4 separate regions of the Homo sapiens genome follow, and all the other regions are linked to region 2. The links are contacts of gene promoters, found by promoter capture Hi-C in blood cells and fetal thymus (Javierre and others, 2016). All regions are on one chromosome and are shown on one strand. The core of a region is centred on a gene start or on the middle of the fragment in contact, and the rest is flanking DNA. Distances in the headings are between cores, read along the strand shown. Region 1 overlaps VASH2 (vasohibin 2). Region 2 holds the start of BATF3 (basic leucine zipper ATF-like transcription factor 3). Region 3 holds the start of RPS6KC1 (ribosomal protein S6 kinase C1). Region 4 overlaps ANGEL2 (angel homolog 2).

Region 1 (5,819 bases), core at 873-3,372, 280 kb before region 2:
CTTGGGAGGCTGAGGCAGAATCACTGGAACCTGGGAAGCGGAGGTTGCAGTGAGCCAAGATCGTGCCACTGCACTCCAGCCTGGGCAACAGAGTGAGATTCTGTCTCAGAAAAAAAAAAAAAAAAGATGGTCTCTAAAGATGGCAGCGCAGCAGGAAGCCCATTTCCACCTCTGTTGAGCTGCTTTTACATAAAAGTGAATCATGGCTGGGTGCGCTGGGTCATGCTTATAGTCCCAGCACTTTGGGAGGCTGAGAAGAGAGGATCACTTGAACCCAGGAGTTTCAGACCAGCCTGGGCACCACGGTGAAACCCCATCTCTACAAAAAAAAAAAAAAAAAAAAAAAGCAAAAAAAATTAGCCAGACATGGTGACATGCGCCTGTAGTCCCAGCTACTTGGAAGGCTGAGATGGGAGGATCGCTTGAACCTAGGAGGTGGAGGTTGCGGTGAGCTGAGATTGCACAACTGCATTCCAGCCTGGGCAACAAAGCAAGACCCTATCTCAAAAAAGAAAAAAAAAGTGAATTATGTTTAAGCTACAGCTTACACCTAACCTTAGCCAAACCTGATCCACTAACAGTGGGTGCTAAGTCAACCTGAGGAAGGTTACTGTGTGGAGTATGGAGAACATGCTCCTAGCAAGTTCTAACTCGGGAGGAATGGCCATAGTCCAAATGAAGTCAGGAGTCATACTCACTTCTAGGAGTCAGTCTTCTTCCCTGTAACCCTGCAAACTATGTAGGACCTAAGCCATGGTAGCTCTTTAGATCTCCTGTTGTCTCTGAAAATTAAGCAGTGCATGTGCTTAACAAGAGACTGTCTTGTTCCATGGTCCTTGTAGGACCTACCAGTTAGCTCATCCGAGTTTCTGAAGCTTTCTTACATATGTTGCCTTCCTGGCCTGGCATCTTCCTCAACACCAAGTCACACCTCTCCTCCTTCTGAAACTCTAAATATGCTGCCCTTCATATAAGAAAATAAGACACTAGCTTCACAGTATTTTCAAGTTGTTGGACTAGATCTGCACTGACCTGTTATCTCTCCCTCAGTCCTGTGCCCGACAGTCTCTCCTAGAAAGTCAGTGGCCAGAACAGCCTACAGGGTAGGCTCAGGGAGAAAACAAAGCCCACCCGCTCATCCCTGTCATGGAGGCTCACTGGGATCACTGCAGCTAACTAGCCACAGGCCTGCCACCTCCTCGAGAAGCCACTTTTTGGCCACTCACCTTAATTCCTCACTTTGGAGCCCCTCAGCCCATAAATTTTTTGTAGTTTGTGTGTTTCTTAAACTTCACTCTTTACCATTACCTGTGTTCTGCTATTGGCACATTTGAAAATAGATGAAATTTAATTTGGGAACCTTTGAACTCCTTTTCTTAGTCTTTTCCCTCGCACTTGCACCAGTTTTCCCATGCCTTCCAGGTACCAGGAAATCACCATTATAAATAGCTTTTATTTATTAGACACTTAACGATGTGCCAGGCATCATTCTAAGAGGTTTCCGTGGATTAATTAATCCTCACCATAACCCACGGGGTTGATACTGGTACTGTCCATTTTATAGAGGAGATAATGGAGGTACTGAAAGGTAGGGAATTTGCTCAAAGCAAAGTCATGCAGTTAGCAAGTGTTGGAGCCAGAGTTGGTCCCCAGAATCTAGAGCCCACACCCTGAACCACAATGCAAACTTCACCCTTCCTCTGCCACCTCAAAGCATCTTTCCAAGCATCTGAGAAGGACACCATGGCCACTCCTGCCTCTGCACCTTGGCTTATGCTGTCTCCTGTCTAGAATGCTCTCCCCAACATCTCCACATCCTTAGAAGGCAATCCCAAATGTCACTAACCTCAGGAAGTATTTTCTGACTCCCTACCATCACAATCCACTACTTGCTCTGTATGCTCTGGCATTTTCTTTGGTACATTTGCTATGGCTTAAATGTGTCCCCAAAAGTTCATGGGTTTGGAAACTCGATCCTCGGTGCAGTGGGGTTGGGAGGCAGGGCTTAGTGGGAGGTGTGTGGATCCGGGGGCATCACCCTCATGAATAGATTAGTATTTTCTCAAAAGTGGGTTCTTATAAAAGGATGACTTTGGCCCCTTTGCACACTTGTGCTTGCTCTCTTTCTTTCCTCTCTCCCTCTCTTTGCCCTCTGTCATGGGACAGTGCAACAAGAAGGCTCTCACCAGATGTCAGCCACTTGATCTTGGGTTTCTCAGCATCCAGAACCATGGGCCAATACATTTCCTGTTCATTATAAAGGACTCAGTCTCAGGTATTCTGTTACAGCGACACAAAATGGACTAAGACAACATCTGTTCCAGAATCCTGCCAATTCATAATCATTACACCTGCCTCAGAGACTGTGAACAATTTGAAAGGAGGGACCAGGGAAATTCATCTATGAATCCCACTGTGGAATACGTACTTATCAATCAAATTCTCACTAACATGTAAATGGATGATAGTGAATCATCTGTTACCTTTATCATGGGATATTTTATTTTAGAGACAAAGTCCTAAGCCAGGAATTCAAGTTACCATGACAACATTTTCAGAATTAACAAGCAGGAAGAACATTTATTTTCCGTATTGGAGTGGGTTTGCTTTACCCCTGAAAGCCATGTGGGGAACCTGCCTACTCATTAAGCTGAATGCATCAACAGCTTGAGTGCTTCCAAAGGAAAGGGACTAGGTCATCTTCTTCTTCTGTATCCCCACCCCTGCCACCTTCCACTAAGTACCCAGAACCCAGGAGAAGAAAAGGGCTAATACTGACAGAAAATGAGCTAAACTGAGATTCCTGGTGAACTGCCCAGAAGATGAAATCCTTTTCTTTTACAGCAACCGTGGCTGCAATCTCCTTGGCTGGCATAGGGCAGAAGTAGGTTATCACAGCATGCCACCTGCCTGTGGGGCCCAGCCAGAAATGTCATTCAGTCCTTGCCAGCTCATCTCAGGGCCAGAGCTGGGTGAGCTATTGTGTATAGAGAGGACTCTTCCAAGTGCTCCCCCAGCTCTAATTAGAATATTGCAAGGGGGTTTATTTTTAAGAAACACGAGCACTAGGATGATGATTCAGCCGGGTCTGCACTTGCCCAGAACCTCTCATCGGATCCAGGGTTATTATTTTAGACTAATATATTTCTCCAACCCCACCTCCCTGCCATCCTCCTCCAAACAAGGCAAAGAAATGAAAGAATTTTCTTTTTTCAAGGTTCTCCGGCAACATTTTGTTTTAGGGGAAAAAGAGTAGAAAACTTTACTTTGACTCACTTTGCAGGAGAAAGGATATCCACATGCACAGACAGTCCCAGCCTCACCTGTTGTGACGTAAATGGACTCAGAGTGAACTAGGGTGAAAGCTTGATGGCCTGGCCCCAAGGCTACACTTAACCCCAATGACAGGTCTGCATTCCCGGAGCCAGCTGGACGGAGGGTGCTCAAAGCAGGAGGTAGGCTAGGGAGAACAGGGTGGTGGTTCCACAGAGAAGTTATTCTGTCAAAAATCCTACTACTCTCTGCCACTGCTATCTCAACTTTGACAGCTGCACACCAAGTCCTTCACACTCTGAGGCAGCCTCAGTGCAGAGGAGGAGCTCGGCCTGACCAGATGGTGCCATCTGTGCAGCCACAAGAAGCCTCAGAACCAGAAAGTGATGGAGTGGAGACATGACCACATCCCAAGGCTGAACATGCATAGGGGTGTATCTGGGAGAGATGAGGTTTAAGAAAAGAAACAGGACGAGGAGAGGAAGTTCACAGGGTTCCCTCAACCACCCAGTCTCTCTTCCGCACCTCTGACTGAGGGCCATGTCTGGGTACGTGTGCCGGCAGGTGCTCACCCTCACACAGAAACACAAAGGCCAGACTGGCGGTACAGCCTGCAGGCTCGGGAGTCCAGGAAGGGAAGTGTGGGAAAAGTGCCACTGTAAACGTTAGACTCTTAATCCCGGATGTTAAGAATGTGGAAGAGATTAAACCAGGGGTGCTCTTGGCCCAGCATTTACAAGTTTAAGCAAAGACCCCAGGGCCACCCTTCTTGTGGAGTCTGGCCAGAATCAGGTCAGACCAGGCCCCGATTTAGGATTCACGGCCGGTCTGGGTAGGCCGCAGAGGCAGAGCATGGCCTCAGCTGGACGGACACAGGGAAAGGGAAGCTTCATTCACACCTGTCACCTTCATTCCAGGCCAGTCCGCTCCTCCCTCACATTCCTTGCTTCCCCTGATGGAAAGCACCGGTGCTGGCAGCTGCCAGGGCAGACAGCTGATGTTGCTATGTAAACAGAGGCCTCAGCCAAGACGGATTCGGCCCAGAAGAGATTTTTCAGCCGGTGCCCATCCCTTTGAGCCCTCCCCAGGCAGGAGACTCTGGCCATAGGCCAACTGTTGGAGATTCCAGGGCACAGTTTCCAGGCTCTGATGTCACTTCTCCTTTCCGGGACAAGAACCCCTCAGCTCTAGGAAACCTCACCCTGTCTGCCCCTGTCTGACCCTATGTGACCCTGGGGAGCTCACAGAGGCTCCTGGCTCACTCTGCCTGAGGTGGTCTTTTCTGATGAGGCCCATCATTCCATCTTGGTTTCTCCAAGCATCCCTGGAGACTCTGGGCCATATGAATTTCCCTGGGGGAACTGACCAGGCAGTCACTGGAGTAGAAACTGCCCCTTCACCATCTTGGCGGTTTAGCTTTTCCCTTCGTAGCCTTCCTAGTGTTCTTTTTTGTTTGTTTGCTTCCCTCTACTTTCCACCCTAAGGAAATCTCCTTTTCTCACTGGGGATATTTCTCATTTGGGATCTAAGGAGAATTACTTCTTGGGCACCAGTCAATGTGATTAGACCATGGAATCAAATTTATTTTCAATGACTTCATTAAACAACTTCTGCCCTTACTCAACCAGATGTCTGGACATACGTAATCCTTCCTGACAGAATGCAGCAGGAATTCCATTGTCCAGCTCAAGGCCCTGCAGTGAAAGGAGATGGGCTTTCAGGGCTTACTAACCTCTGGGACCCCCAGGGTGTCCAGCAGGGCAGACAGAGCCCGCTGGAGCCATGAACTGCCACAGAGATCAGTGATGAAGAAGGGAAATCAAAGAGGAAGAAAAGGGGAGGCAAAGAAAGGTGACCAGCAAAGAAAACAGGAGGAGAGACAGCAGGAAAAAAGCAGCCACACAGGGGAGAGAAGATGAAGAGGTTCTCATGGGTCCTCAGGAACACTGGCCTCCATTGAGAAGAATGTTTCACGTGGTCACTCTGGCTGCAAAACCAGAAAATCACTATCTGCTCACTCCAATTCACCCAGGGCCAGCTCATAGGCAGCAAGCCAAGAGTCATGAACTGTCAGAAATGGAAAGGACCTCGGAGAGCGCTGAAGCTTCCCAGTGAGGGCGCTGTTGGCATTTGAGGTGGAACGGTTCTTTATTGGGCAGGGTGGTCCTGGGCTTTGCGGGGCATTTACCATCTCAGGCCCCCGGCCCTAGCAAGGAGCCTCCTCACTTACCAAGATGTGAGAAGCAAACGCTTCCACCTCCCACCACACTTCTAACCCTCCTCTCCCAGAGCTGACCCAGTTGAGAACCCCTGGGAACACCCCTTAGTGAAGAGCTGCAAGGGTTCTGAGGCCCGGGGCTGGGAAGGAGTTGGTTTAAGTTCACAGATGGCCTTTGAAACATGAATCTCAACCTCCCTCTCCCTTTCTCTTTACGAACCACAGGAAAAAACTTGACAATTCAGTGTAGTAGGTGCTTTACACACTCCCAGAGGAGCAGTGTGAGAAAGGACCCGTGGGTGGAAGGGTGGGGGAGTCCTGGTTTCCC
Region 2 (5,337 bases), core at 1,739-4,238:
ATTTTAAAGATGCATAACATTCTATCCTGTGGCAATAACATATTCTGTTTAGCCATTCAACTATAATCGGACATTTATGTTGCTTACATTTTTCACTCTTAAAATGTTATTATGAACTTCTAGTGCATATAGTATTTTTCTCCCTAGTATTTTCAATGATGTTTCTAGGATGATTTTCTAGCAGTAGGAAAATTGAGTCAAAAGTGATGACTCTTTTATGGTTCTTGAAAGTGACAGTAAAACTGCTTTCCAGCAGGTTTGTGCCAATTTACAATGAAGCCAGTGAAACATGTGAGTACCAATTTCACCATACTCTCCCCAGCATTTGATATTACTTTTTATTTTGCTAACTTAAAAAGGGTTCTTATTTTAATATATATTTTCCTATACCTATTTTCCTTGATTATTTCTTCTGCTGGGAAATGCCATTTCATATCCCTTCTGCAATTTACCTTTGCGGGTTGTCTCAATATTCTTCTTCTTCTTTTTCGTGGGCTGTATATTAACCCTTTCTCATATGCACTGTATTTATCCAATCTGTTTGTTTTACATTCCTGGTTATACTGTCATCTAAAACAATTTAGCCCTTTTATATAGTTCAGATCTTATCAAGTCAATTTCTCCTATTACATGTATTCTTATAAGATCCTTTCCTTATCTTATCTCCACAACTTTATTTTATTTATTTGAGATAAGGTCTTGCTCTGTTGCCCTGGAGGCTGGAGTGCAGTGGTGCAATCATAGCTCATTGCAGCCTCAAACTCCTGAGCTTAAGTGATCCTCCTGCCTCAGCGTCCTGAGTAGCTGGGACTACAGGTGTGCACCACCACACTCAGCTAGTTGATTTCTTTTAATTTTTGGTAGAGTTGGGGGTCTCACTATGTTGCCTATGCTTCCATGACTTAAATAAGAATTTAATTCTGCTTTAGCTCTCTGATTTTCATTTCTGTATCTAGCTATTTAATCCATTCATTTTGATGTATGATCTTTACATCAAATTGATCTCTGCCCTAAATGCTACCTAGTTAACCAAGACTAAATGTATTTGAAGAAACCCTTGCGTAACACAAGACAGTAGACTATGCCTATATAAAGAGTTCGTGTGTGCTGGGACATGGTTTCAGGCTCCCTGGGGAGAGACAGGGAAGCAGCAGCCCCAAAGGACTTAAAATGTGATGTGGTTCAGTGAGAAAAGTGGGCATGACCAGAATAAAGTGTAGGAGTGCACGGGAATGTTCCCGAGGTGTTTCTACCTTGCCTTTTCTGTGCATAAAAAACACTGGGGAATGAAATCACTTCTGAAAATGATAACCCCTTGACCCAGATGTTTTCCTAGCTCGTTAGAGCCCTTTTAGTGCTTCAGGAATGAGAGCTTTCAGCTGACCTAGTGCAATACATATACTGAGCACCTGTTGAGTGTATGTAGCGTGCTATGCTAGGCACCTTGTGTGGGTACCTTGTGGGATGCAAAATAGTCCTGGGGCAACCACCAGTTAAGCTGAGTGATGAAATAACGGAGAGGAAAAGATTAATCCGGGCAGATAACCCAGCGTAGCGCTGGCTCTGCTGCGCAGCCTTGCTGCTGTGGAGTGTGGCGCTGCAACTCTAAAGGGCTGCGTCCACCCTCCGTCTTCCTCCCCGCCTCTCAGTTGGCCGAAGCTTCTGATCACACAGACAAGAATCTCCGCTCGCTTTCCCGCTGGCCTCCAGGCAGCCAAGTTCACTCAAGCTCTCTCAAAGCTTTTGCAAGAGTGGGTCTTAAATCCTGGCGGGGGGCACGTGCACTCATTTAAGACTTAAAAAGGAATCGGAAATGACTGTCCCCATGCCCACTGCTGCCCACAAACCTGAAGACCCAAGCGACCACACTTGGTAGGCACTTCTGCCCTTCTGGTCTGGTTCCCACCCGCCCATCCCGAATCGCGGTTATCTTTCCCGGTGCTCACAGCATGCAGACCACAGCCTGTGGCCGCTAGTGTTTCCTTCGCTAGGACCACGGGTAATTGTCTTGGCTTCGCATCTTTTGACTGGCAGGCAGGTGGACAGGGACTTGCCCTACCTCAACCCGGTCCCCAGCTTGGCACGAGCAGATAAATCTTGAAAAAGAAAAATGATCTGGGCCGTTTAACCGTGGCATGGCGGGTCCAGATCCCCAAACCTGTCACTAGTGACGTCCCACGTGGCAGATTCGCTCTCAGGGAAGCCCGTCACCGTTTTTGTCCGGGACATCCTCCCCATGCCCACCCTCCGCTCCGGGAATTCACCCTCGGGGCCGCCCCGCCTCGTTCCCTCCCACAGCCCGGCGGACCCGAGACGGGAAGGGCAGGCACTCCCTGCAGAGTCCCTGGGGCGCCCGTGGCTCGGGGTGCGCGGTGGGACTCGGTGAAGCCGGCGTCTTCACCCCAGAGCCGCGGCTTCGGGGCCGCTGGAGGAGCGAGAGTGGCGCCCGGATGACTGATCGCCGCGGAGAAAGTCCCCCGGGACTGTGACCCCCGCGCCGGGGGGCGGACGCAGGGCGTGGCTGAGGCGCAGGAAGATGCCGCGATGGGACCGGGAAAAAACACCGACCCCAAAACACCCACTGTGTTTCTCAACCTGAGTTCCCCGGCAGCCGCCGAAGGACCCCAAAGGCTGCATGGCGCCCCCCTGGTCCCCACCCCCCCGGGCGTCGCCTCGCGTGGGTGGGCTTCGCGTTCCCTCCGGGGTTTCAGAGCCACCACGTGACTTCCACGAAGCGCGGGGCGCCGGCGGAAAGCCGCGGCAGGGGTGGGATTTGGGACCCCGAGGTGCGGAGAGAGGGCGGGCAGAGGAGGAAACGAGGCGGGGGTGGGAGAAGGAGGGCGGGGCAGACGTGGGACGGGAAGGACGGCTGCCGGGACTGGCGCGCGGGGACACTGGGCCGACGCGTGGAGTAGCGGGGAGAGCGGGAAGCCTGAGGGGGCGGGGCCGGCGCGAGGCCGTGGGTGCGGCACGAGGATGCCGGCGGCGGGACAGCGCCCGTAGGCAGCCCCACGGGCAGGGCGCGCGGGCGGGGCGGGGCGGGCCGGGCCAGAGGAGCGCCCGGCATGTCGCAAGGGCTCCCGGCCGCCGGCAGCGTCCTGCAGAGGAGCGTCGCGGCGCCCGGGAACCAGCCGCAGCCGCAGCCGCAGCAGCAGGTAGAGGGCGAGAGGCTCAGGGAGGGCCGTGGGGTGCGGGGACCGGCGCGCCGCGGGGGGCGAGGAGGTGGGTGCTGGAGTTCCGTGGTGGTGACTGCGGAGGTGCAGAGGTGGCGGGTGCGGCCGGAGACAAGCAGAGGTAGGGGCGTAGGGATGTTGGGGAATGGGGGCGATCCAGGGACCCTGTCGTGCGCACAGTGTCCGCGGCTCCTGGAATGGCTCCTGAGCCAGCTCCTGCGCCCTCTGGGGGAAGAAGCCCGAGGGCGCCGACGCCTGGCTGGGCCGGGCATGGCCGGTGCTCCCCGGCACGTGGGCTCCGCACTGCCCTGAGGGCCGCCCCATCCTGGCGCAGCCAGCGACTGCCACCCCACCACCCGCGCCTGTAGCCCCTCCAGGATTCCCCCGGGTGGGGGGGGTGCTGCCGCGGGAATGGAGAACGCCGGACTAGTCAGCCTGGGCGGAGGGAACCCACAAAGGGCCGACTCCGCCCCCAGCTGGTGGAAACCCTTTGCCCCTTCCCAGTTCGCTGTCCCCTAGCAACGTTTACAGCGGCGCAGTCAGGAAGGAGACCAGGTTGGCCACAGGGACGGCCGTCTGGAAACTTTGCCTGGGTCTTGGCCACCTGCCTTACGACGAAGACTGGGTCTTTTCATCCTTACTCCCCACCTTCCCAATTCAGCGCCCGGCCCATGTCATCAGGTGTCGCTGGAGTGTCACAGAGATCTGAGTTTGGGCCTGGGCTTTGCCACACACAGGCTGAGCAGCCTTGAGCAATTTGTTTAACCTCTCGGACCGTCCATTTCCCCATCTGTAAAATGAATATAGTAACATCAACCTCTCAGGATTTTTGAGACTGAATCAGATATGGTTAATAACATAATACTATCTCTAACTTTCGCTCACCTCTTTCTGTCTTGATTAAATGTTTCTGCTGGGTTGGCAGGTGTGATCATGGTGATGAGTCCAGTTTAGAGTCAGCTCCCCGAGGGCAGTATGCAGGCTGCTTTCTTGTGCTAGTGACTTTTTGATTACAGAGAGCAAAGAGGCATGAGAAGCACTATGCAGAATACATTTTTTTTTAAAGTAGCAACTTCAACAAAGGCAGGTAACTTCTTGAGGGCATACTGTATGCTGGGAGCTTTAGGACAAAATCTCATTTCATCGCATCCCAATCCTAAGCATTAGGCTGTTAGCACCAAGTCTGCAGAGTTCACTGACCCTTTGTTTAGGGCTTGTATCCCCAGTGTCTAGAACAGTGTCTGGCACATGGTAGGTGCTCAGTTAATACATATTGAAAGAATGAATGAATTATGCTTACAATAAATGAGAAAACTGAAAATTTAGAGAATTTAAACCATTTACACAAGACCATGTTGACACTAAGAGACAAAACTAGGATCTGTGTGATTCTAAAGCTAAAGAGCTGTCTTCTAACCACATGTTCCCCTGTAATGTTCTGGTTTTGTTTATCAAGACTTCTTTGCCTCTCTAGAAGACTGTATTATCATACTTTGTTCCCTTAAGCTTCTATTTGCTATGTATGTTATTTATTCCTCTCCTTTTTATGCCTTTATATTCTTGCATATCTGAAACTTCTTACCTGCAGTAACTTGGGAAGATGTGTGTCTTATGTGGAATACAAGATGAGATCAAATGATAACTGAAAATATCCTTTTTTGTGTTATTAATATTTGCATTCCGTGAATATTAATAACTGAGTAGTTTTCCTTGTTTGTACCTCTTGGCTCTTAAACTCTGTAAGTGTGGTATTTTTCCCGCTTGGTGGTGTCTTCTCATGGGGTTCTAGAAAGCAAATACTGCTCTCCTTTTTCATGTTTTCTATAGCTGATTGAAGTGTTTTTACCATGGTCAGTGCATTTTTCCGCCTGCCTGTTTCATGATCACTATTGAGGGATTTGACTGAATTTGGTTAAATCTTACATATAGCTAACAGCTTTCAAGACACATAAAAAATTTGCTGACTTCTGAAACAAAATGTCAGCCAAGCATTGTTCAAATGAGTACACTGTCAGTGGGGTTTAAGATCATTTGGTGTGTTGGTAGAGTTATGTGGCTGCAATTAGTTGTAAGTGTAATCATGATTTGCATGCAGTATCAAAAGTACCTTTCATGTGTGGTGGTATAAGGACTGGCAAACAGCAAGTTCCAGATAGCAGATCTC
Region 3 (5,133 bases), core at 1,988-4,487, 350 kb before region 2:
TTAATTATCCTGAAAAAAGGTGTTTTTCTCCTTAACTCTCAAGAAATATTTTATAATACTAAGCACAGTTATTTTAAAAGTATGTCTCCACGTTGACTCTCAGACCTTACATTTTAAAAACAAAATCTGTAACATAAGCAATAAATGAAGACATAAATATTTACGGGAAGAAAAAAGGCAGTCTGTGCAATTTTCAAGTTCAAATAACCAGAGCAATATGTAACATGCATATATATAAATGTGGTTAGTTCTAAGGCAATGTGCTACTTTATCTTCTAGTTTATATTGTCAAAACTTAGCTCAGTAAATAGGTCACAGCTTCAGATATTTAAGATCTGAATTTGGCCAATGCGGTGGCTCACGCCTGTAATCCCAGCACTTTGGGAGGCTGAGGTGGGTGGATCACCTGAGGTCAGGAGTTCGAGACCAGACTGGACAACAAGGCGAAACCTCGTCTCTACAAAAAATAGACAAATTAGCCGGGTATGGTGGAGGGCGCCTGTAATCCCAGCTACTTGAGTGGCTGAGACAGGAGAATCACTTGAACCCAGGAGGCGAGGTTACTGTAAGCTGAGATAGCGCCACTGCACTCCAGCCTGGGCAAGAGAGCGAGACTACGCCTTGGAAAAAAAAAAAAAAAATTCTGAATTTGGTTAACCTTTCCTTTTGTAAAGTAACAATACAAATAATTATACTCAGTGCTTCCAATTCCAGTTCCACACACATTCATACCTCCAGGTCTTTATGGACTCTACCCCTTCAACTGTCTACCTTTTCATACCCTCTCCTTTTCTGGATTCTTCCCCTCTTTCAACTATCTTGATTGGTACATATTCCCCAATCTCTTGATCCAGAAGCAATCTGTCTTCCCACAGCCCTTTTCTGTAGTGTCTGCTGGAACTTCCTGTGTTATATCACACTTAAGTATACTAAACTCTCTTCTACTATGAGTATCCTTGAAAGGAATAAAGATCCCTGCTTTATTCAGCCTTATGTCCCTCAGTATTTAGTGCCTGGATCTAAACATTTATTGGGTGTGCTCCGTACAATGAAGAGGAAAACATTCAACAATGTTTTTCAGGCACTGTGTGCCATGCACATGCATGTTCTTTTATCTATTATTTGATATAAGCAGAAACAAATGCCAATGATAGAGAACTGCTCTAAATCCACTAAGAGACACAGACATGCAACTAAATTAATACAATATAACTTTCCTGTTAAATTAACGGATAAGTAGGATGCTGTGAGAGAAACATTACGTATGTTGAAAACTGTTCTGATTCCATACACTATGTGTTAGGAAACTAAGCCTAGATTTTCAAAGGGCCCAATGACTAGAAAGGTTTCAAGAGTGGTATAATAAGGGCCCCTCACTCTCACAAAATTTCTTACACAACCTGAAACTAACATTCCACCCATGTAACAACCTTAAGTGCAAGCAGGGAGCAACAAACATCCCTCTATTCTCCGAACAGCAATCGGCAATAGCAGGTCAGGTCTTCTCATTATCTTTATACAGACATGTTCATCTATCCCTCCTTCTCACATTTATCTGAATTGTGCACCATTTCCATACATCACGTGCCACTCCCATGCCCCAAACTGATCTATTTAACCTTTAAGATTCTTCTCAGGCTGGGTGTGGTGGCTCATGCCTGTAATCCCAGCACTTTGGGAGGCCGAGGCAGGCGGATCAACTGAGGTCAGGACTTCGAAATGAGCCTGAGCAACATGCAGAAACCCCATCTCTACTAAAAATACAAAAAATTATCAGGGCATGGTAGCACATGCCTGTAATCCCAGCTACTCGGGAGGCTGAGGTAGGAGAATCGCTTGAACTCAGGAGGCAGAGGTTGCGGTGAGCAGAGATCATGCCATTGCACTCCAGCCTGGGCAACAAGAGCGAAACTCCGTCTCAAAAAAAAAAAAATTATTCTGAAGGCCTGCTTTACATCCTCCAAATGTATATTGAACTACTGTTACTTAATCTGTACCTCTCTTCTTTAAAAATTGATAAAGTTAATTATTAACATTTTATATAACTTGGAGTTAGGCAAAACTGGTTTCAGATCCCAGACAGATCTGCTACTGCCTTGCAATGTAAAGTTGGGCAAGTTACTAAACTTGCTTTAATCTATTTCTTCCTCATTAAAATGAGAATTAAATTGGGTGATGTGCATAAAATGCCTACTATACACATATATTCATGCACACATACGTCACATACATATATACTTATTTAATTTTGATTTATTCTTACTTTCCTAGAAGATGCAGACTCTCTTTAAAACTCAAGGCAAAAGCAATGAAACATAAAGTGGGTACTAAAAATTGGACCAGTTAGTTGATGTAAAGGAGCCTCCCAACTTTAAAATGTGCCCTCATGGTAGCTCACACAAGCCACCCTCAGCAGATTTTTTTCACGTCTCCTACTGAAAAACATGAAAAACTCAAAGGTTTGACAAAGCCCGGATCCACAGTTCCTAGGTTGGTGGCCTAACACTGACATCTGTCCCAAGAATCTGTCTTTCTCACAGCAAACCTGATAAAGGTCAAGAGAAAAAACAACTTATATTACATAAGCCAAACAATACATAAATTAACACTTTTTAATCTGCATTATCTTCCTGGAGCAAGCAAAACCACTTCTGCAAATTGCGAACTCAGAAGAGAAAGTCCAAACGGGATGGGAACTGAGTCATCAATTTAAAACCATCAACCACTGACTGCCCCACCCCCAGAAAGAGGACTCTACCACGACCTACTACAGTGAAGCCCTGGGCATATCACACTCAGCCACTACTCTAAAAATCCCAACCTCCGACACCCAAGTCCCGCCAGTAGGAGCAGCACCCAGTCCCACCCTCGGCTCTGAGCCAGAGTCAGGTACCCTCACATCAGGGTCCCCACCCCAGATCCTCAGGTCCCAATCCAAGCTCTACCCCAGCCCGACACCGGCACTCACCCGGGCGGTGACCTTATATACTGTGTAGCCCCTCGGGTGTCGCTGGGGCTCGGTGACAGTGTAGAAACGGGCCAGGTCGGCACTCCGCTCCCGGTAAGAGGTCATCCTCCCGCCGCCTCTGCCGCCGCCGCCACCCGCCCGGGATCATGAGGGAAACCCGGCGCCGCCGCGGTCCAGGTTCCCCAACGCAGCGGCGAAGCGGCGAGGGGGCGGTGGCTCCAAGGCGGCTCCACGGCGGCGCCTCAGCTGCACAGCTCTGCTTCCGGGTCAGCAGAGAAGCTTCCGGGCCAGGCTATCTCCCGCTTCTAGGGGGAGGGGAGACTCCTCCTTAGATTCTAGCCCCTTTGGGGCACCTGGGACTGGCCTGTAGTTGAAGACTAAGGGGTCGCGCTGCCACCCCCGTCACTGCGGAGACCTCAGGCCTCTCCACTAAAGACGACCTCTTGTACGCTAGCTCCGTCACCTTTTATGAGATTTTATGAGAGTTGGTATAGCCACGCCACACCGGGAGAGCGTGGTCCTCCCTGCCTCCGCCCCGCCGTGGTACAAACTTAAGTGGAGTGTTGAAGGGATGGAGAGATACCATAGCCTAGCACCTTCTTTCCTTACCTATTCACAGCCTATCATTTTAAATACCCACAGCAACATCTCATTCTCTGAGACATATCCCTTACTTCTTTCTAAGACGAATTTCCTTCCATTGAGCGCCTTTCTGTAACACATCTGCACAGCAAGCCCCCAACCCAAAAAAGCTCCCAAGCCAATATCAATCTTTTAAAAATCCCCACAGGTTCGAAAATCTGGAGTCCGCCTCTGGCTAGAAGAAAGAAATATGTCACTCGACCTCTCCGAGTCACTCACTACAGTTTCCAATTTCAGCTGAGGTTGTTATCAACGCTTGGCAGTTCCTTTATCTTTTTGTGATCAAGGTTCCTTTTCATTCCACAAAATATTCATGCCAAGTCTTTGCCATTATCCTAAAGACTCTGTTCCTCTTCCTTTTGCCTCCCTACTCTCCGCACCACCACTCTTCTTTACAGGGAAAAAAGAAGAGGAAGAAGCAGCTATGGCCCTTAGTACCAATTCCTTTGTCTTCTCACATTTCCATGCCAGTCTGAAACGTACACATATCACTTGCTCATTTTTACAGCTAATGACTCCACATGTGATCTGAATCCCATCCTCTTTGGCAAACCTTAAGACACTGTTTCAATGACATTCCAAATCTCCTTTCTGTATGTTTAATCTCTTTCTCACCACTGGCTCCTTCTTTTCAACCTACATATATCTAAGTCTATTAGTCATTCATTAAACCTGAATTCACCACCTACTATGTGCCAGACATGATGCCAATTTGGCATTGGAGTTACAAAGATAGTCCCTGTTCTCCGACCGGGCGCGGTGGCTCACGCCTGTAATCCCAACACTTTGGGAGGCCGAGGCGGGCGGATTACCTCAGGTCAGGAGTTCGAGACCAGCCTGGCCAACATGGTGAAACCCCGTCTCTACTAAAAATACAAAAAATTAGCCAGGCGTGGTGGCAGGCGCCTGCAATCCCAGCTACTTGGGAGGCTGAGGCAAAAGAGTCGTTTGAACCCGGGAGGTGGAGGTTTCGGTGAGCCAAGATCGCACCATTGCACTTCAGCCTGGGGGACAAGAGCAAGACTTCTCTCAAAAAAAAAAAAAAAAAAAAAAAGGTAGATAGTCCCTGTTCTCAAGTACCATCTAGTAGGAAAAATAAAGACACAAAATATACTGTGATAAGTACCATGGTGAATGTATATATGGAGTACTAAAGAGCACATCAATTCAGGATGGAAGATCGCCTAAGGCTTTCTGATAGAAGACTGAGTCTTGGAAGAGAGATGGGAGTTAGCCAGGAGAGAAGGGAGTAAAGGGCATTATTCATTTTGCCTTCTTTTCTTCCTTTCTTTCTCCTTCCACTCACCGTCAAAGTTGTTTAAGTTGATTTTAAAGTAATCTACATCAACATTGCATCATCACCCATTTATTCCCATGTCCAATTCAATCTGGTTTCACCTCTATATTGCTACTCTGAAACTGCTCTGAAAACAGTTTCCAGTGACCTCAATTTGCCCAATATTTCTGGATTTTGAAAGTCTCTGACCATTTCTACCTTTTTAAAACTTTTGTATATTCTTAGC
Region 4 (5,172 bases), core at 1,283-3,782, 300 kb before region 2:
AATTATGCTAAATCCACTCTACCTGTGCTATGTCAGTGGAAAAACAAAGCTTGGGGATGACAGTGCATCTGTTTATGGCATAGAATATTTTAAGCACACTGCTGAGACCACTATTCAGAAAAACAGATTCCTTTCCAAAGATTACTGTTCGTTCACAAGGCACCTGGTCACCCAAGAGCTCTGATGAAGATGTACAAGGAAATGAATGTTTTTTCATCCCTGCTAACACGGCATCCATTCTGCAGCCTATGGAATCAAGGAGTAATTTTGTACCTACAGGTCTCCTTATTTAAGAAATACATTTCATAGGCTATAGCTGCCATAGAAGTGATTTCTCTGATGGATCTGGGGAAAGTAAATTGCAAACCTGCAAAGGATTCAGCATCCTAAATGCTATTCAGAACATTCGTGATTCATGGGAGGAGGTCAAAATATCACCATTAAAAAGAGTTTGGTAGAAGTTGATTCCAGCCCTCATGGATGACTTTGAGGGGTTCAAGACTTCAGGGGAGGAAGTAACTGTAGATGTGGTGGAAATAGCAAGAGAACTAGAAGTGGAGCCTGAAGAATTAACTGAATTGTTTCAATCTCATGATAAAACTTAAATAGATGAGGAGTTGCTTCTTATAGATGAGCAGAGTATTTTCTTGAGATGCATTCTATTCCTGGTGAAGATGCTGTGAACATTGCTGAAATTACAACAAAGGATTTTAAATGTTACATAAATTTAATTGATAAAACATTGGAAGGGTTTCCAATTTTGAAAAAAAGTTCCGTGGATAAAGTGCTGTCAAATAGCATCAGATGCTACAGAAAAATCTTTTATGAAAGGAAGCATCAATGGCTGCAGCAAATTTCATTGTTGTCTTATTTTAAGAAATTGCCACAGCCAACCCCCACTTTAAGCAACCATCACCCTGATCAGCCAGCAGTCATTAATATCTAGGCAAGATCCTCCACCTGTAAAAAGATGATGACTCACTGAAGGCTGAGATGATTGTTAGGATATTTTAACAATGAAGTATTTTTAAATTAAGGTATGTATTTTCTTAGGCATAATGCTATTGCACACTTAGTAAACTACAGTATAGTATAAACGCAACTTACATGCACTGGGAAACTGAAAAAATTATGTGACTTGCTTTATTGAGATACTCACTTTATTGTGGTGGCCTGAAACCAAACCCGCAGTACCTGTGAGCATGCCTATATTTGATACAATAGGAACTATATTGCAGGTAGTAAAAAATGATGAATAGTGTTAGTTCAAAGCGATAGATGATTTGTATGTCCAAATTAAAGAAAAGCATGTATGGGAAAAAGATTGTCATTTTTATGTAAATGATAAGTGCTTTCTGAATTGTATTTAAAGAAAAGAAGATTTTATAAGTCCAAAGAATCACTTAATACAATGAATAAAGGGTAATAATTTACCACTTTTGGATTACCTTTTATTTAAGACATAAATTTTTCAACTCATAAGCTATTTAAAATCTTTTCACTTAAGATACCTGTTGAAATTTTGTTTAGGTATCTGGCCAGGAACAGTCTTCACGGGGACAAAGAATTTTATCTATTCCAATTTGGCCCCCAAACCTAGGTATCTCACAGAACTGTGTGTATGAGGTACAGCAGGTACCAAAAGTAGAAAAGACAGGTAAGTGTTTGTAATACATTTTGGCAGTCTGCTGGGTAATCATGTTCCCTTTGAAGACATAAAACTAAGTTTTTAAAAAGAAAAAATCTCAGGGATGAATATTCATATATATAAATATGTAGTTATTCATTTTTTTTCTTAAGACCTCTAAATTTACCTTTTTAAAGTTGAACTTCCAGAATTATCTGTGCATGATTTACTTGCATGTTGCTTTGGAATTGTTTGCATTTTTCTATTTTTCCTAATTCTGGAGGCCATCGAAATATATAGATTCCAGAATGAAACATGTAACTAGGCATCTTTCTAACCTAGATAAGTCTTAAATATTGTTTCTAGAGTAAGATGACGATATTAAGGCAAACTAGAACAATAACATTAATATATTTTCCTCTATTCTTACAGACAGTGATCTGACACAAACACAGCTGAAGCAAACAGAGGTCCTAGTGACAGCTGAAAAGTGAGTTCTGGAAAGCAAAAGGAGACATTTGCTAACTTTAGTTGAATAAAAAACTCATTTCTCAAAAATCACTTGGATAAAAAAATGAAGGTGATAGTATTCCGTGCTGGTGAAGGGTGCTGGCCCTTAAGTCAGATAGGCCTGAGTTCCAGTCCTGACTCTGCTGTGTTTTAGCCGAATGATTTTGAGCAAGAAACTTAACATCTCTGAGGTTCAGTTTCTTTGTCTATAGTTTGGATTGTTGTGAGGATTAGATGAGACAAAGCATATAAAGCACAATGTCTGAAACATACCTAGGCACCTAGGTAGTGTTAGGAAGGGAAACAGCTTGTCTGTGGACCTGGACCAGCTCAAATACTCTTTGAAATTCACATACTTAAACAAAGGTCAAGATCACATAAAAATATCTTTCAGATCTCAAAAGGATCTTTAGTTGTCTTTGATTTACTAAATCTCAAAACCATCTATAAGAGAATTGATCCAAAAATGAATATGCCAGTTGAAAAGATGATCATTTTAATTTATCTCTTGAACTGTAGGAGAAGATTGTCAGAGGGGTGAAGATGCTGGAATTCTTCATTAAAGAAATAGGAATATTTGGGGCTATGGTTGAGAAATTGATACATGTTAATAAAACAGGACAGAGACTTAAATCTTGTCTCAGGGAGATTCTTGAAATATCTTGATTGTTAATTATATTGTGGCTGTTTTATAGTTTTTTGTTTTAACATTTAAATTTAGGGACCAATTCTCATTTATTTTATCTGCTTCTCAATCTTTATTTTGTATACCTTGTTTTGAGAAAATATTACTACATAAATAAGAACTAGTAAGAATGGAAGCAATTTTTAAAAAAATTTTTTAAATGAATATTTTAAAATTCATGATTAAACCTTTCAATATAGTAAAAACTTCTTTGAATAAGATTAATAAGGAGGCTAATCTAACAAGTACTTCGTTTTGAGTAACTCTTAAATCTTTTTGTAACAATATAGGATATAAAAAAGATATTGGCTGGGCGTGTTGGCTCACGCCTATAATCTCAGCACTTTGGGAGGCCAGGGCGGGAGGATTGCTTGAGCCCAGGAGTTTGAAACCAGCCTGGGCAACACAGTGAGACCCTGCCTCTATTAAAAAAAAAATTAAAACATTCTGGCCGGGCGTGGTGGCTCGTGCCTGTAATCTCGGCACTTTGGGAGGCTGAGGTGGGTGGATCACGAGGTCAGGAGTTCAAGAGCAGTCTGGCCAAGATGGTGAAACCCCATCTTTACTAAAAATACAAAAAATTAGCCGGGCATGGTGGCATGCACGTGTAATCCCAGGTAGGCTGAGGCAGAGTATTGCTTGAACCCTGGGGGGCAGAGGTTGCAGTGAGCCGAGATCGCACCACCGCATTCCAGCCTGGGTGACAAAGCAAGCCTCCGTCTCAATAATGATAATAATTTTAAAAAATAGATACCTTACTTGCCCTTGGTGTCTAAAAATTAAAAGAAAAAAAGAGGCCGGGCGCGGTGGCTCACGCCTGTAATCCCAGCACTTTAGGAGGCTGAGGCGGGCGGATCATGAGGTCAGGAGATTGAGACCATCCTGGCTAACACGGTGAAACCGCGTCTCTACTAAAGATACAAAAAAAAAAATTAGCTAGGTGTGGTGGTGGGCGCCTGTAGTCCCAGCTACTCGGGAGGCTGAGGCAGGAGAATGGTGTGAACCTGGGAGGTGGAGGTTGCAGTGAGCTGAGATCATGCCACTGCACTCCAGCCTGGGCGACAGAGCAAGACTCTGTCTCAAAAAAAAAAAAAAAAAAAGATACTTTTTTGTATCTTTATGTAAATACAGAGTGTTTATATGCATAGCTTATATCTGTAAACTGAAAAATTGATAGATAAGAGTTTGCAGAAGACCTATTTTTATTTATTATTTTTATTTGAGAGTTGATCTCACTGTCATCCAGGCTAGAGTGCAGTGGCATGATCTTGGCTCACTGCAGCCTCCACCTCCCAGGCTCAAGCCTTTCTCCTACCTTAGTCTGCCAAGTAGCTGAGACCACAGGCATGTGCCTCCACGCGTAGCTACTTTTCTAGATTTTTTTTTTTTTTTTGTAGAGATGAGGTCTCACTGTGTTGCCCAGGCTGGTCTCGAGCTCCTGAGCTCAAGCAATCTTCCCGCCTTGGCTTCCCAAAGTGCTGGGATTACAGGTGTGAGCCACCGCGTCCGGCCCTATTTTATGTTTAATATTATAAATCCTTAGACATAAAAAGTTGCTAATAAAACTTAGAGGGCATTTTTAAGGATTTACCTTTGTTCCTGACATATGAACACTTTAAAAGCAAGGGAAACATCTTCATCTATGTATTCTCAGCACCTGACATATTGCCTAGAACTTAGAAGATGTTTGGTAAATGTTTGTTGGATAAGTTTCTTTTTTAATTTTATTTTCCTTCAAGGCATAAAAGATCCTTAAGATTCATAAAGTATCACTAGAAAATAGTCTTTAAACCTTTTACTCATAACATCACATATATTTGTGCATGGGGCAAATATAATAAACCATTAGAGAAGCTGTTTTAAGATGCAGTACAAAATTATATGTGATAGCAAGAAAAATTAGAGAAGAATATGGCCTCTCTGTCATCAAAAGTCTAGAGGATTCCAAATAGTGTTCCTGAAGACCCCCTTGATTCTCTTTCTTAAAAACACAATAAAACTTGTTAGAATACATGTTCTTTAGTAAGTGGAGGCATTCACACGTTATAAATAATGAAAAAACACATTAGTATGTTAATTATTGAGCTTTTTTTAAAAACCACATTTATAATGGCTTTATTGATGGGTTTTAGATATCACTGCATAAGTAAATTAATACTAAATTATGATATGGTCTTTTTAAATAAAGCTTGTCCTAATGTTTGGTCTTAGTCTAGAAATTAAGTGAAAAAGAAATTCAGATAGGAGGAATTCTTGAAGTTACAAAAACTCGGATTCTAAACACTTCTTCTTTTCTATTTAGATTGTCTTCAAATTTACAGCACCATTTCAGTTTGTCATCTGTTTATTC

What was found. The method cuts DNA at HindIII sites, captures the fragments that hold promoters and counts their contacts. A CHiCAGO score of 5 or more calls a contact.
Region 1: a fragment that was not itself captured here is called in contact with the fragment with the promoter of BATF3 in region 2 in 5 of 17 cell types (erythroblasts, megakaryocytes, neutrophils and 2 more); the score reaches 7.7 in erythroblasts.
Region 3: a contact is called between the fragment with the promoter of RPS6KC1 here and the fragment with the promoter of BATF3 in region 2, in 1 of 17 cell types (total B cells). The highest score is 5.6, in total B cells.
Region 4: a contact is called between a fragment that was not itself captured here and the fragment with the promoter of BATF3 in region 2, in 15 of 17 cell types (megakaryocytes, erythroblasts, total B cells and 12 more). The highest score is 13.1, in megakaryocytes.

What each region holds. Positions count from the first base shown.
Region 1 is chr1:212,979,726-212,985,544 of GRCh38, reverse strand. All of the region lies in intron 7 of VASH2 (vasohibin 2), which reads right to left. Among named protein-coding and RNA genes, the nearest start is that of VASH2, 32 kb to the right of the region's middle. RefSeq lists enhancers at 3,554-3,703, 3,814-4,033 and a silencer at 5,284-5,578. The HindIII fragment of the contact is 2,490 bases long and covers 878-3,367 here.
Region 2 is chr1:212,697,491-212,702,827 of GRCh38, reverse strand. BATF3 (basic leucine zipper ATF-like transcription factor 3) reads left to right here and starts at 2,988. Exons shown (of 3, transcript NM_018664.3): 1 at 2,988-3,155. The coding sequence starts at 3,066. RefSeq lists silencers at 2,971-3,050, 3,241-3,690. The HindIII fragment of the contact is 2,939 bases long and covers 1,743-4,681 here.
Region 3 is chr1:213,049,345-213,054,477 of GRCh38, reverse strand. It overlaps RPS6KC1 (ribosomal protein S6 kinase C1), which reads right to left and starts at 3,237. Exons shown (of 15, transcript NM_012424.6): 1 at 2,969-3,237. The coding sequence starts at 3,073. RefSeq lists a silencer at 3,009-3,108. The HindIII fragment of the contact is 5,380 bases long and covers 1-3,249 here.
Region 4 is chr1:212,997,271-213,002,442 of GRCh38, reverse strand. ANGEL2 (angel homolog 2) reads left to right here. Exons shown (of 9, transcript NM_144567.5): 6 at 1,531-1,657; 7 at 2,060-2,117; 8 at 5,125-5,172. Among named protein-coding and RNA genes, the nearest start is that of ANGEL2, 16 kb to the left of the region's middle. The HindIII fragment of the contact is 4,961 bases long and covers 52-5,012 here.